3 separate regions of the Homo sapiens genome follow, and regions 1 and 2 are each linked to region 3. Evidence: promoter capture Hi-C in human tissues and cell types (Jung and others, 2019). All regions are on one chromosome and are shown on one strand. Each heading gives the region's core, a stretch centred on a gene start or on the middle of the fragment in contact. The rest is flanking DNA. Distances are from core to core; before and after follow the strand shown.

Evidence for each region. The method cuts DNA at HindIII sites, captures the fragments that hold promoters and counts their contacts. A contact is called where the count stands out against the background at its distance.
Region 1: a fragment that was not itself captured here is called in contact with the fragment with the promoter of GRHL2 in region 3 in 1 of the 25 tissues and cell types used here (aorta).
Region 2: a contact is called between a fragment that was not itself captured here and the fragment with the promoter of GRHL2 in region 3, in 1 of the 25 tissues and cell types used here (mesenchymal stem cells).

The regions. Positions count from the first base shown.
Region 1 is chr8:101,304,549-101,308,331 of GRCh38, forward strand. It overlaps the pseudogene RNU7-67P. Among named protein-coding and RNA genes, the nearest start is that of LINC02844, 44 kb to the left of the region's middle. The HindIII fragment of the contact is 3,712 bases long and covers 64-3,775 here.
Region 2 is chr8:101,710,509-101,714,705 of GRCh38, forward strand. The region is part of intron 2 of NCALD (neurocalcin delta); the gene reads right to left. Among named protein-coding and RNA genes, the nearest start is that of NCALD, 78 kb to the right of the region's middle. The HindIII fragment of the contact is 5,335 bases long and covers 1-4,197 here.
Region 3 is chr8:101,491,119-101,494,888 of GRCh38, forward strand. GRHL2 (grainyhead like transcription factor 2) reads left to right here and starts at 1,321. Exons shown (of 16, transcript NM_024915.4): 1 at 1,321-1,671. The coding sequence starts at 1,652. It overlaps GRHL2-DT (GRHL2 divergent transcript), which reads right to left and starts at 1,587. Exons shown (of 2, transcript NR_186782.1): 1 at 1,332-1,587. RefSeq lists an enhancer at 1,339-1,867. The HindIII fragment of the contact is 12,677 bases long and covers 1-3,770 here.

The sequences.
Region 1 (3,783 bases), core at 670-3,169, 190 kb before region 3:
TGCTCATATTTCTGTCTCTGTGTCCACTGCCCTGATGGGTAGTTACTTGTTCTCAGGCTTTTCTCCCTCGCTGTGCTGCAGGCCCCTGAAGACCAAGACCTTGTCTTACTCATGTGTGTAACACCAGGCATTGTAACACCAGGCATGACGTGAACTAGAGCAGGGGCCGAGTGAGGGTTTGCTCGGTTGAACTAAGTGGGGCTGAGAAGATTCAAGAGCCTGCTTGGAAGTGCCAGATGTGTAACAGATGCTGTCTGGTGCTTTGTGGGAACACACTACCTCAATAAGTAGCATTCCATAGAGCTCAAGGTCTAGTTAGGGAGTCCATAGGCTGTAGGTGACAAAGGCCAAAGGGAGTCAAAGAACAAAATAATGGAGAGCTGGAAAATATCAAGTCCAAGTGCTGAGGATGGGATGGGGTGAATTTGAGTCTAGAAATAAGGGAAGCAAAAGACCCAGATTTGAGGAAGGAAGAGGGAGGGTGAGGCAGGGTGGGCAGGGAAAGGCAGGGGGCTCAGGCATTCCAGGCTGAGGGCAGGCCTTGGAGAGCCTTGCATATCTCAGAGATGCACCTTCATGCCCTAGGTGGGGCAATAGTCTGCGAGAAGGGCCTGATGAAGGAGGAGCTTCGAGGTAAGAACTAAGTGGGGAAAACCATAGATTCTTGGCCAAGGGACCTTCATAATACATGACTTATTCTGCTAGTTCTTTTAACATGAGCCTTTAATACTTTTTTGTGGAATGAATAAGCAAGGGAGGAAGCCAGATGTGGAAGAAGGAAGATGAGCTGTGGACTTAGTCACCTGGGTTTGAATCTTGGAGTCACTACCTGCTGGTTCTGTGATGCAAGCATGTTCCCAATCTTCTACAAGCCTCAGTGTCCTCATCTGTGAACTGGGGATGACATATGCTTCATTTTGGGGTGGGGTCAGCTTTATTTAGGTATAATTTACATACAGTAAATATTCACCAATTTTAAGTGTCCCCAATTAAGTGATTTTTTGAAATTATGTTGTTGTGTAACTACCATCACAGTAAAGATATTAAATTTTTACATCACCCTCAAAAAATGTCCTTATGTCCCTTGCAGTCAATCCCCTTCTCCCACTCCTGGCCCCTAGCAACCAAAGGTCTGCTTTCCATTACCATCATCTTGCAATTCCTAGACTTTCATACATATGGAACCATGCTGTTATAATCTTTATGCCAACCTTTTTTTTAACTTCGCATGATGCTTTTGAAATTCACCTAAGTTGTTGCTATTATTGAGTTCCTTTCTTTTTCGCTGAGTAGTTTTCTATTTTATGAATATCATACAATATATGCTTTTCTGTTCATCCATTGGTGGACATTTAGGTTGGTGTCAGTTTTTACCTACTATAAATAAAGCTACTATGAGTATTGGTGCATAAGTCTTTGGGCAGATTAATATTTTCATTTCTTTTGGATAAATACCTGGGAGTCAAAGTGCGGGGCATATGGCAGCCTTTGTTTAAAAGACTACCGATCTGTTTTTTAAAATGGCTACACCGTTTTGCATTCTTACCAGCACAGCCTGAGAGTGCCAGTTCTCCAGATCCTCGCTGACATTTGATATTATGTGTCTTCTAAAATTGTAGCTATTCTAGTGACTGTACAGTGGTAATTTATTGTAGTTTTAATTTTCAAGATTTTCTGATAACATTTTTTAATGTAGGTAGTGGCAATTCGTATCTTCTTTGGTGTAGTGTCTGTTCAAATAGTTTGCCAATTTTTTACCTAAATTGATTAGTTTATTTTCTTAATATTTTCGAGTGGTAAAGGTTTATTATATATGATTGATCCTTGAACAATGGGTTAGGGGCACCAACACCCCCCCACTCCTGCAGTTGAAATTCCACATATAACTTTTGACACCCCCAAAACTTAACTAATAGCCTACTGTTAACTGGAAGCCTTACCGCTAACATAAACAATTGATTTACACATATTTTGTATGTTATACGTATTATATACTGTATTCTTACAATAAAGCTAGCTAGAGAAAAGAAAGTGCTATTAGGAAAATCATAAAGAAGACAAAATACATTTACACTACTGTACCGTATTTATCGATACCGTAAGTTTCTATTGTCTGTTTATAAGATGAATCCTCTGTCTAAAATGGCAACTGCAGCTACAAGCCTCAGTCTATGGTACATCAAGAAACTCAATCTTTTCCTGTACTGACATGACTTTTCTGCTTCTTGGGAGCACTTCCAACATCACTGGTGGCACTTCCTACTTGTCCCATGGTGTTATTCAAGGATTACAGTATTACAATAAACACAATGAAAAATACCTGAGAACCAACAAAGATCACTTTTTATTTGGATGTGCAGCTTACTGGAGAGATGAACTGCCCACATGGAGATGAATAGCTTACATGACATGTTAAGTGGATATTCTTAAAACGAAAGCTTCATGACAATAACAACAGGAGGTGCCTATGAAGTTATTACGGTACCACAGGATGTACAGGTTAATTTTATGCAGTTCTGATGTAATACTGCATCTTTATGTTTGTTTCCATTTCTTTTGACTGCGAATGGTGCCATGTACAGTCCGTGTTTGTGTGTGTGTAAGTTTCGTTAACTTTTAACTTTATATGAAAGATTTGTGTATATTTTATGGTAGTCAATGATAAAATAGACTAGTGTCTACATACATTTTATGCATTCATGACATACCTTTTTCTTAATTTTGATATTTCTAGGCTGCACAGTTCATCTTTGAATGTTTTCAAATTATTGCAAATCTACAAAAAGTTTTTCAATATATGTATTGAAAAATATCCATGTAGTGTTACAGCTCTTTTAGAATTTGTCTAGCAGGTTTCCCAGTATTCACCGGAAAGCTCCAAAAAAAAATGAAAGAAAGAAAGGAAGATAGGAAGGAAGGAAGGAAAGAGAGAGAGAAAGAAAGAAGAAAAGAAGAAAAGAAAGAAAGAAAGAGAGAAAGAAAGAAAGAAAGAGAATGAAAGAAAGAAAGAAAGAAAGAGAAAAAGAAAGAAAGAAAAGAGAAAAAGATCCTCCAGCCTCAGCCTCCCAAGTAGCTAGGCTTACAGGTATGAGCTGCCATATCTGGCAAACTATTTTTAAAAAGTTTTAAAAAATACTTTTTAAAATTAAATTTCTCTCTGCATTTCATTTTGCATAATTTCTATTGTCTTGTCTTTTTTCTATTCTTTTGTCTCCTTTTTGTAGAGATGGGGTCTTGTTATGTTACCCAGGCTGGTCTCAAACTCCTGGCCTCAAGTGATCCTCCTTCCTTGGCCTCCCAAGGTTTTGGGATTACAGGCATGAGCCACCTTGCTTGGCCTCTTTCCATTTTTAAACAGTGTCTTTTGAAGAACTAAAGTTATTAATTTTAATGAAGTCCAGTTTATTAATTTTTTCTTTTGTACTTCAGGCTTCTTATGTTCGATTTGAGAAATCTTTCCCAAGCCTAAGTCACAGAGATTTTCTTGTGTTCTCTTCTGAAAGTTGTATAACGTTATGTCTTACCCTTAGCTCTATGGTTCATTCAGAGTTAGTCTTTCTGTATGGTCTGATATAAGGGTCAAGATTTATTTTCTTACATATGGATCACTTGGATAACTAACTGTTCCAGGACTATGTGTTGAAAAGATTATTCTTTCCTTAGTTAATTACCTTGGCCTTTTAATTACTTTGGCCTTTTATTTATTTATTTTGTCAAAAGCCAATTCACCACATATGAATGAGACTATCTCTGGACTCTCTGCTCTATTGACCTATATGATTG
Region 2 (4,197 bases), core at 1,205-3,704, 220 kb after region 3:
CACTAGCTTGAAATTCTTGCTGCCAACACAGCAGTCTGATGTTGACCTGGGATGCTCCAGCTTGGTGCAGGGAGGGGCGTCTGCCATTACTGAGGCCTGACTAGGTGGTTTTCCCCCTCACAGTGTAAACAAAGCCACTGGGAGGTTTGGACTGGGCAGAGCCCACCGCAGCACCACAAAGTTGCTGTTGCCAGATGCCTCTCTAGATTCTTCCTCTCTGGGCAGGGCATCTCTGAAAGAAAGGCAGCAGCCCCATTCAGGGGCTTATAGATAAAACTCTCATCTCCCTGGGACAGAGCACCTGGGGGAAGGAGCAGCTGTGGGTGCAGCTTCAGCAGACTTAAACATTCCTGCCTGACAGCTCTGAAGAGAGCAGCGATCTCCCAGCACAGTGCTCAAGCTCTGCTAAGGGACAGACTGCCTCCTCAAGTGGGTCCCTGACCCCCGAGGCTCCTGACTAGGAGATGCCTCCCAGCAGGGGTCGACAGACACCTTATACAGGAGAGCTTTGGCTGGCACCTGGCCAGGTGCCCCTCTGGGATAAAACTTCCAGAGGAAGGAGCAGGCAGCAATTTTTGCTATTCTGCAGCCTCTGCTGGTGATACCCAGGCAAACAGGATCTAGAGAGAACCCCCAGCAAACTCCAGCAGACCTGCAGAAGAGGGGCCTGCCTGCTAGAAGGAAAACCAACAAACAGAAAGCAATAGCATCAACATCACCAAAAAGGACAACCACACAAAAAACTCCAGCCGAAGGTCACCAACAGCAAAGATCAAAGGTAGGTAAATCCATGAAGATGAAGAAAAACCAGTGCAAAAAGCCTGAAAATTCCAAAAACCAGAATGCCTCTTATCCTTCAATGGATCACAACCCCTCGCGGGCAAGGGAATAAAACTGGACGGAGAATGAGTTTGACAAATTGACAGAAGTAGGCTTCAGAAGGTGGGTAATAACAAACTCTTCCGAGCTAAAGGAGCATGTTCTAACCCAATGCAAGGAAGCTAAGAACCTTGATAAAAAGTTAGAGGAGTTGCTAACTAGAATAACCAGTTTAGAGAAGAATATAAATGACCTGATGGAGCTGAAAAAGACAGCACGAGAACTTTGTGAAGCATACACAAGTATCAATACCCAAATCGATCAAGCAGAAGAAAGGGTATCAGAGATTAAGGGTCAACTTAATGAAATAAGGCATGAAGACAAGATTAGAGAAAAAAGAATGAAAAGGAACGAGCAAAGCCTCCAAGAAATACGGGACTATGTGAAAAGACCAAACTTAACGTTTGATTGGTGTACCTGAAAATGACAGAGAGAATGGAACCAAGTTGGTAACACACTTCAGAATATTATCCAGGAGAACGTCCCCAACCTAGCAAGACAGGCCAACATTCAAATTCAGGAAATACAGAGAACACCACAAAGATACTTCTCGAGAAGAGCAACCCCAAGGCACATAATCGTCAGATTCACCAAGGTTGAAATGAAGGAAAAAATATTAAGGGCAGCCAGAAAGAAAGGCTGGGTTACCCATAAAGGAAGCCCATCAGACTAACAGTGGCTCTCTCTGCAGAAACCTTACAAGCCAGTGAGGGTCAATATTCAACATTTTTAAAGAAAAGAATTTTCAGCCCAGAATTTCATATCCAGCCAAACTAAGCTTCATAAGTGAAGGAGAAATAAAATCCTTTACAGACAAGCAAATGCTAAGGGATTTTGTCACCACCAGCCATACAAGAGTTCCCAAAGGAAGCACTAAATATGGAAAGGAAAAACTGGTACCAACCACTGCAAAAACAAACCAAAATGCAAAGACCGTCAACACTATGAAGAAACTTCATCAACTAATGGGCAAAATAAACAGCTAGCATCATAATGACAGGATCAAATTCACATATAACAATAATAATCTTAAATTGTAAATAGGCTAAATGCCCCCAATTAAAAGGCACAGACTGGCAAATTGGATAAAGAGTCAAGACCCATCAGTGTGATGTATTCAGGAGACTCATCTCACATGCAAAGACACACATAGGCTCAAAATAAAGGGATGGAGGAAGATTTACCAAACAAATGGAAAGCAAAAAAAAAAAAAAAAAAAAAAAATAGCAGAGGTTGCAATCCTAATCTCTGATAAAACAGACTTTAAATCAACAAAGATCAAAAAAGACAAAGAAGGGCATTACATAATGGTAAAGGGATCAATGCAACAAGAAGAGCTAGCTATACTAAATATATATGCACCCAATACAGGAGCACCCAGATTCATAAACCAAGTTCTTAGAGACCTACAAAGAGACTTATACTCCCACACAATAATAGTGGGAGACTTTAACACTCCACTGCCAATATTAGACAGATCAACAAGACAGAAAATTAACCAGGATATTCAGGACTTGAACTCAGCTCTGGACCAAGCAGACCTAACAGACATCTACAGAACTCTACACCCCAAATCAACAGTGTATACATTCTTCTCAGCACCACATCACACTTATTCTAAAATTGAACACATAATTGAAAGTAAAACTCCTCAGCAAATAAAAAAGAATGGAAATCATAACAAACAGTCTCTCAGACCATAATGCAATCAACTTAGAACTCAGGATTAAGAAACTCACACAAAACTGCACAAGTACGTGGAAACTGAACAAGCTGCTCCTGAATGACTAGTGGGTAAATAATGAAATTAGGCAGAAATAAATAAGTCCTTTGAAACCAATGAAAACAAAGACACAATATATCAGAATCTCTGGGACACAGCTACAGCAGTGTTTAGAGGGAAATTTATAGCACTAAATGCCCACAGTAGAAAGCAGAAAATATCTAAAATTGACACCCTAACATCACAATTAAAAGAACTAGAGAAGGAAGAGCAAACAAATTCAAAAGCTAGCAGAAGACAAGAAATAACTAAGATCAGAGGAGAACTGAAGGAGATAGAGACACAAAAAAAAACCATAAAAAAATCAAGGAATCAAGGAACTGTTTTTTTTTGAAAAGATTAACAAAATAGATAGACCACTAGCCAGATTAATAAAGAAGAAAAGGGAGAAGAATCTAATTGACACAATAAAAAATGATAAGGGGGATATCCTCACTGATCCTACAGAAATACAAACTACCATCAGAGAATACTATAAACACCTCTACACAAATAAACTAAAAAATCAAGAAGAAATGGATAAATTCCTGGACACATACACCCTCCAAAGACTAAACCAGGAAGAAGTTGAATCCCTGAATAGACGAATAACACATTTTGAAATTGAGGCAATAATTGATAGCCTACCAACAAAAAAAAGCCCAGGACCGGATGGATTCACAGCCGAATTCTACCAGAGGTACAAAGAGGAGCTTGCACCATTCCTTCTGAAACTATTCCAAACAATAGAAAAAGAGAGACTCTGAAAAGGCCTTCAATAAAATTCAAAATCCCTTCATGCTAAAAACACTCAGTAAACTAGGTATTGATGGAACATACCTTAAAATAATAAGAGCTATTTATGACAAATCCACAGCCAATATCACACCGAATGGGCAAAAGCTGGAAGCATTCCCTTTGAAAATTGGCACAAGACAAGGATGCCCTCTCTCACCATTCCTGTTCAACATAGTATTGGAAGTTCTGGCCAGGGCAATCAGGAAAGAGAAAGAAATAAAGCGTATTCAAATAAGAAGAGAAGAAGTCAAATTTTCTCTGTTTGCAGATGACAGGATAATATATTTAGAAAACCCCATCATCTCAGCCCCAAAACTCCTTAAGCTGATAAGCAACTTCAGCAAAGTCTCAGGATACAAAATCAGTGTGCAAAAATCACAAGCTTTCCTATACACCAATAATACACAAACAGAGAGCCAAATCATGAGCAAACTCCCACTCACAATTGCTACAAAGAGAATAAAATACCTAGGAATACAACTTAGAAGGGACGTGAAGGACCTCTTCAAGGAGAACTACAAACCACTGCTCAAGGAAATAAGAGAGGACATAAACAAATGGAGAAACATTCCATGCTCATGGTAGGAAAAATCAATATCATGAAAACGGCCATATTGTCCAAAGTAATTTATAGATTCAATGCTCTTCACATCAAGCTACCATTGACTTTCTTCACAGAATTAGAAAAAAGTACTTTAAATTTCATATGAAACCAAAAAAGAGCCTGTATAGCCAAGACAATTCTAAGCAATAAGAAC
Region 3 (3,770 bases), core at 71-2,570:
TATCTTAAAATATTATATTAAAATAGTACCTGCATTGTCTTAAAATATATTATTTCTTTAAAGTGTGTGTTTATATTGTTTTTTAAAAATACAATTTTGAAATTTATTGTTGAAAATGGACACATGGAACAAACCAAACCTTGTTTTATCATGTAATTTTCAGAAAATATGTGATCCATAAAGATTAAAAGAAAGTTGTATTAAGTCTGGCAGCTTTAGTATTAACTTGAAATAAAATATGGCAAGCTTTCCACGTCCTCCTTTATTTCCACAATCCATATGTACGAGCTAGATTCCAGTCAGAACTTCCACAAATACTTCACTCTTTGGTAGCAGCGGTTATAAATTACGCCTTTGCTAATTTGCGTTGTTCCCAACCAGGAGAAACATTACCACAAAAAAAGTCAGTTTCATCCTGCAGTGTTCCCGCAGCAACCATATTAAGCTGGAAGAATAAAGCTCCTTTGTAGTAGTAGCGTCTATTGAATTACAATGTAAATGTTGATGCCTGCCTGGAAACGTCAAATGACAACAGGTTTACAGAACGAATTCAGTGGTTGTTTGCAGCTCTGGAATCCCAGGCTGCAGAGTTGAGATCGAAGAGGTGCGTCTGGCCATCTTAGCGTTCATTCAACCAAATCTCCTCACTCCATCAAAACCACGCCACTCCCCACCTGCCCAGCTCGTAAAAGGATGCTCACCTGTTTGAAAATCTGTAATATATCTGATGTCTTTTACACAGCAGGACACGAAAAAGTGTTTGTTGTGGATAAGAGTGTTAAAAATTCAATTACGCAACAGACCAAACTTTGTGCTTCTTTCCCCCTCTCAGCACAAAGTAACTTTAGTCCCGTCCTCTTCTGCCACTGTCAAACAGCCCTGTTACTGTGGGCATTAAATGCCTTGTGGCGTACTGCGCATTTGATTCTGGTTGACTTGGGATACCTGAGCTCGGCTCTCATTAGCTCTTCCGCTCGACCCACAATCCCTAGTGTTTGCAGGTGTTGCATTCCCCCAACCCCTTTCTTCTCTTCAACCAGTAGCCTCCACCTTCCCATCCCTGCTTTGGAGAAGGAGGAAAACGCAGCTTGAGATCTACTCGAAGAACTGACCCTCAGCTCTCACAGGCTGCCGCCGAGCTGCAAGCATGCCGCCGCTCCACTCGGGTAAACTTCGGAGTGAGTTACCTGCACTCGGAGAAGGGCCTTACCTGAGCGCGCCTCTGCCAATGGCAGCTCACCTGAGGGAGCTCCCCAGCCAATCATCGCGCAGCTCGTCCCTCGGGCTTGTACCCTTTAGTGAAAGAATTCAGCTCCTTGCGAGAAAGTTACCTGTGGCCGCCCAAGTCCGCCACTTTCTGCTCTGTGTCTGCCCATTGCCACGATCCAGGAGGACTCCGCGCCGCCCGGCCGCCTCCGAGCTCGGGCCCCATGTGAGGGGCCCCCCCTTATCCCACCTTTCCGGCTAGGTGAGGGCGCGAGCGGGCGAGCGAGCGAGAGTGGTGAGGGGGGACGGAAAAGCAGAATTACCTGTAGCTCTTGTTCTGCCATCTCGGGCGCTCTCACACACCTTCACCTGCACAGACTTGAAAGTCCAGTTTCACCAGAGGCTGAGGCTCCAGGAAAAGCGGAGCAAGTTCATTGGATCAAACATGTCACAAGAGTCGGACAAGTAAGTGGATCACACGCGCCGGCTGCTGCTACTACTACCACTTTGGGCTGATGGCAACTGGTTTGTTATGTTTTTGTTTTTAAGTTGCTATTGTTGGTATTTTTCTTTCTTTTTTCTTTTTCTTTTTGGTGGATCCAGACTTTTCCGCATTATGTTTCTACCCTGATTAAGGGGAGAAACCCTACAACAATGTGAATATTTAATATCCCCTTTGGGCCTTGATAGTAAAAGTGGGTTTTCCTTTTCCTTCTTCCCTTAGGAATGGTCTCAGCTCCCGCTCCTGGATGAATACTTGGATATTGCCAGAGGTTTTGGTAGATGGGCGCGGGAGGCCTGCTCTTCCCTCTCTGTTTTAGCTGCTCCCACCGATCTGGCGTTTAGGGCCATTTGGAAGTTCAGCTGAGTTCCTTCGATTTGTCCAAAGGGCCTACTGGAAAAGTGGGGCTTGGCCGCTTTTGTGTGACCGCAACAAAGAGCTTTTATATGAGGCAGAAACGGCCATCTTCTCGCACCGGGCAGGAGGGTGGGCGTGAGTGCGCGCCCGCGTGTGGCCCCGATGGGAGGCGAGGCGCTGGGAGGCCGGGGGGCGCGGGGGCGGCCGGCGCCGTCCCCCACTCCCTCGACATCCCGCCTTCCTCCCCCCTCCCCCGCCTCCCTCCCCCGGGTCCGCCCCCGCATTGTTTGGCCACCTTCCTCAGGTGCCCGGGGGGAAAGGACGGTTCGCGAACTGGGGGAACTCATGTGAGGCCTCGAGTTAGGGCCTCGGCGGGGCGCGAAGGGGCGCCTGCCACTGAGCGATTCACCCGCGCCCCCGACGGCGTCTGCACGCCCCTCGAGCTCGCGGCCCTCCACGCAGTTGGCCGCCACCTCGGACGCGGCAGGCGGGACTGCGTGGGGCGCGCCGAGCCTTCTCGGGGTGCTCTCGCCGTCAAGGCCGAGGGCTCGGGGCGGCGGGAACGCTGGGCTCGCGTCCTTCCCGTCCCGGACAGGCACTCCAGACGCGTCGGGGAGCCACAGCCTGCGCGGCCGGAGCCGCCCGCGGGTCACTGGGCCCGGTCCGGCCGCGTCCTGACGGCCTCCCCCCTGGCCGGCCCCCGCCCTCGGAAGGCTTTGTGCGAGCCGGGGGAGGTGGGGCCTGGGCGGGCGCGGGAGGGAGCCGGAGGTGGGTCCCGCGGCCTTTCTCGGGATTCGGCGGGGACACTCCCTTCCCCCTCCTCTCGGGCGCGTCCGGGCCTGGGAACTGGCTGCGTCCTATTGGAAGTGCGCGGGGCCGCCCTTTTGCTTTCCCCGGTAACTTTGCCGTGGCGTTGCGGCCACCCCGAGGGGACCTTCCTGAAGGTGTCTCGCCGGAGAGGGCCGGTGCCCCAAGGCCGCGGGCCGCTGGGCCTGTCATGGAGAAGTGGCGGGGACCCGTCCCAAGTTGAGGGACCACGAGGGAGGAGTGGGAAGGCCCTGCGGACCTGTTCAGGGGTGGAGGGGAAGGACTAGCCTCAACATAAAGCCGCTGGCAGGTTAGGCGAACCTAAGAAAATGCGCTGTCATACTTAAAAAGCAAAAAACTGCCAGATAGTTGTACCCCGTTAGCCACCGATGAGGAATTAACCGAGTACAGCATACCGGAGGGGAAGAACTAGCGTTACCAACACGGGAGCGGGTCAGAGGCAGGGTAGGAAGAGGAGAGTGTGTGGTTGTCTGAGAACACCCCCAGCTCCTCCCCATATCTCTCTAGTCTTCAAGGAAACACGACTCGAGTTTGAAATTTTCAGTAGCCAAATCCGGAGGCGACAGCAAGTTTTTGGGGTTTGTTTTGATCTTTGCCTGCGTCAAAGATGATTGCAAATCTAATTTAATTAATCGCGCAATTAACATTTAGTTTGCTTAGTTTTGTGATACAACAGAACTCGAATTCTGAATGAAAACGGGTCGGTCTTTATTTTCACCAGTTATACTTAGCAGCAATAAGAACAATGTGTTTACCATCAGAAATAAGTACTGAGCGCCCGCAATCTGGTTTCACCACACGCATCACCTGGTTTTTACAGGTGATAAGTATCTGGGATTACATATGCTTGCATTTAATGAACGTTGCTTTTATCTAG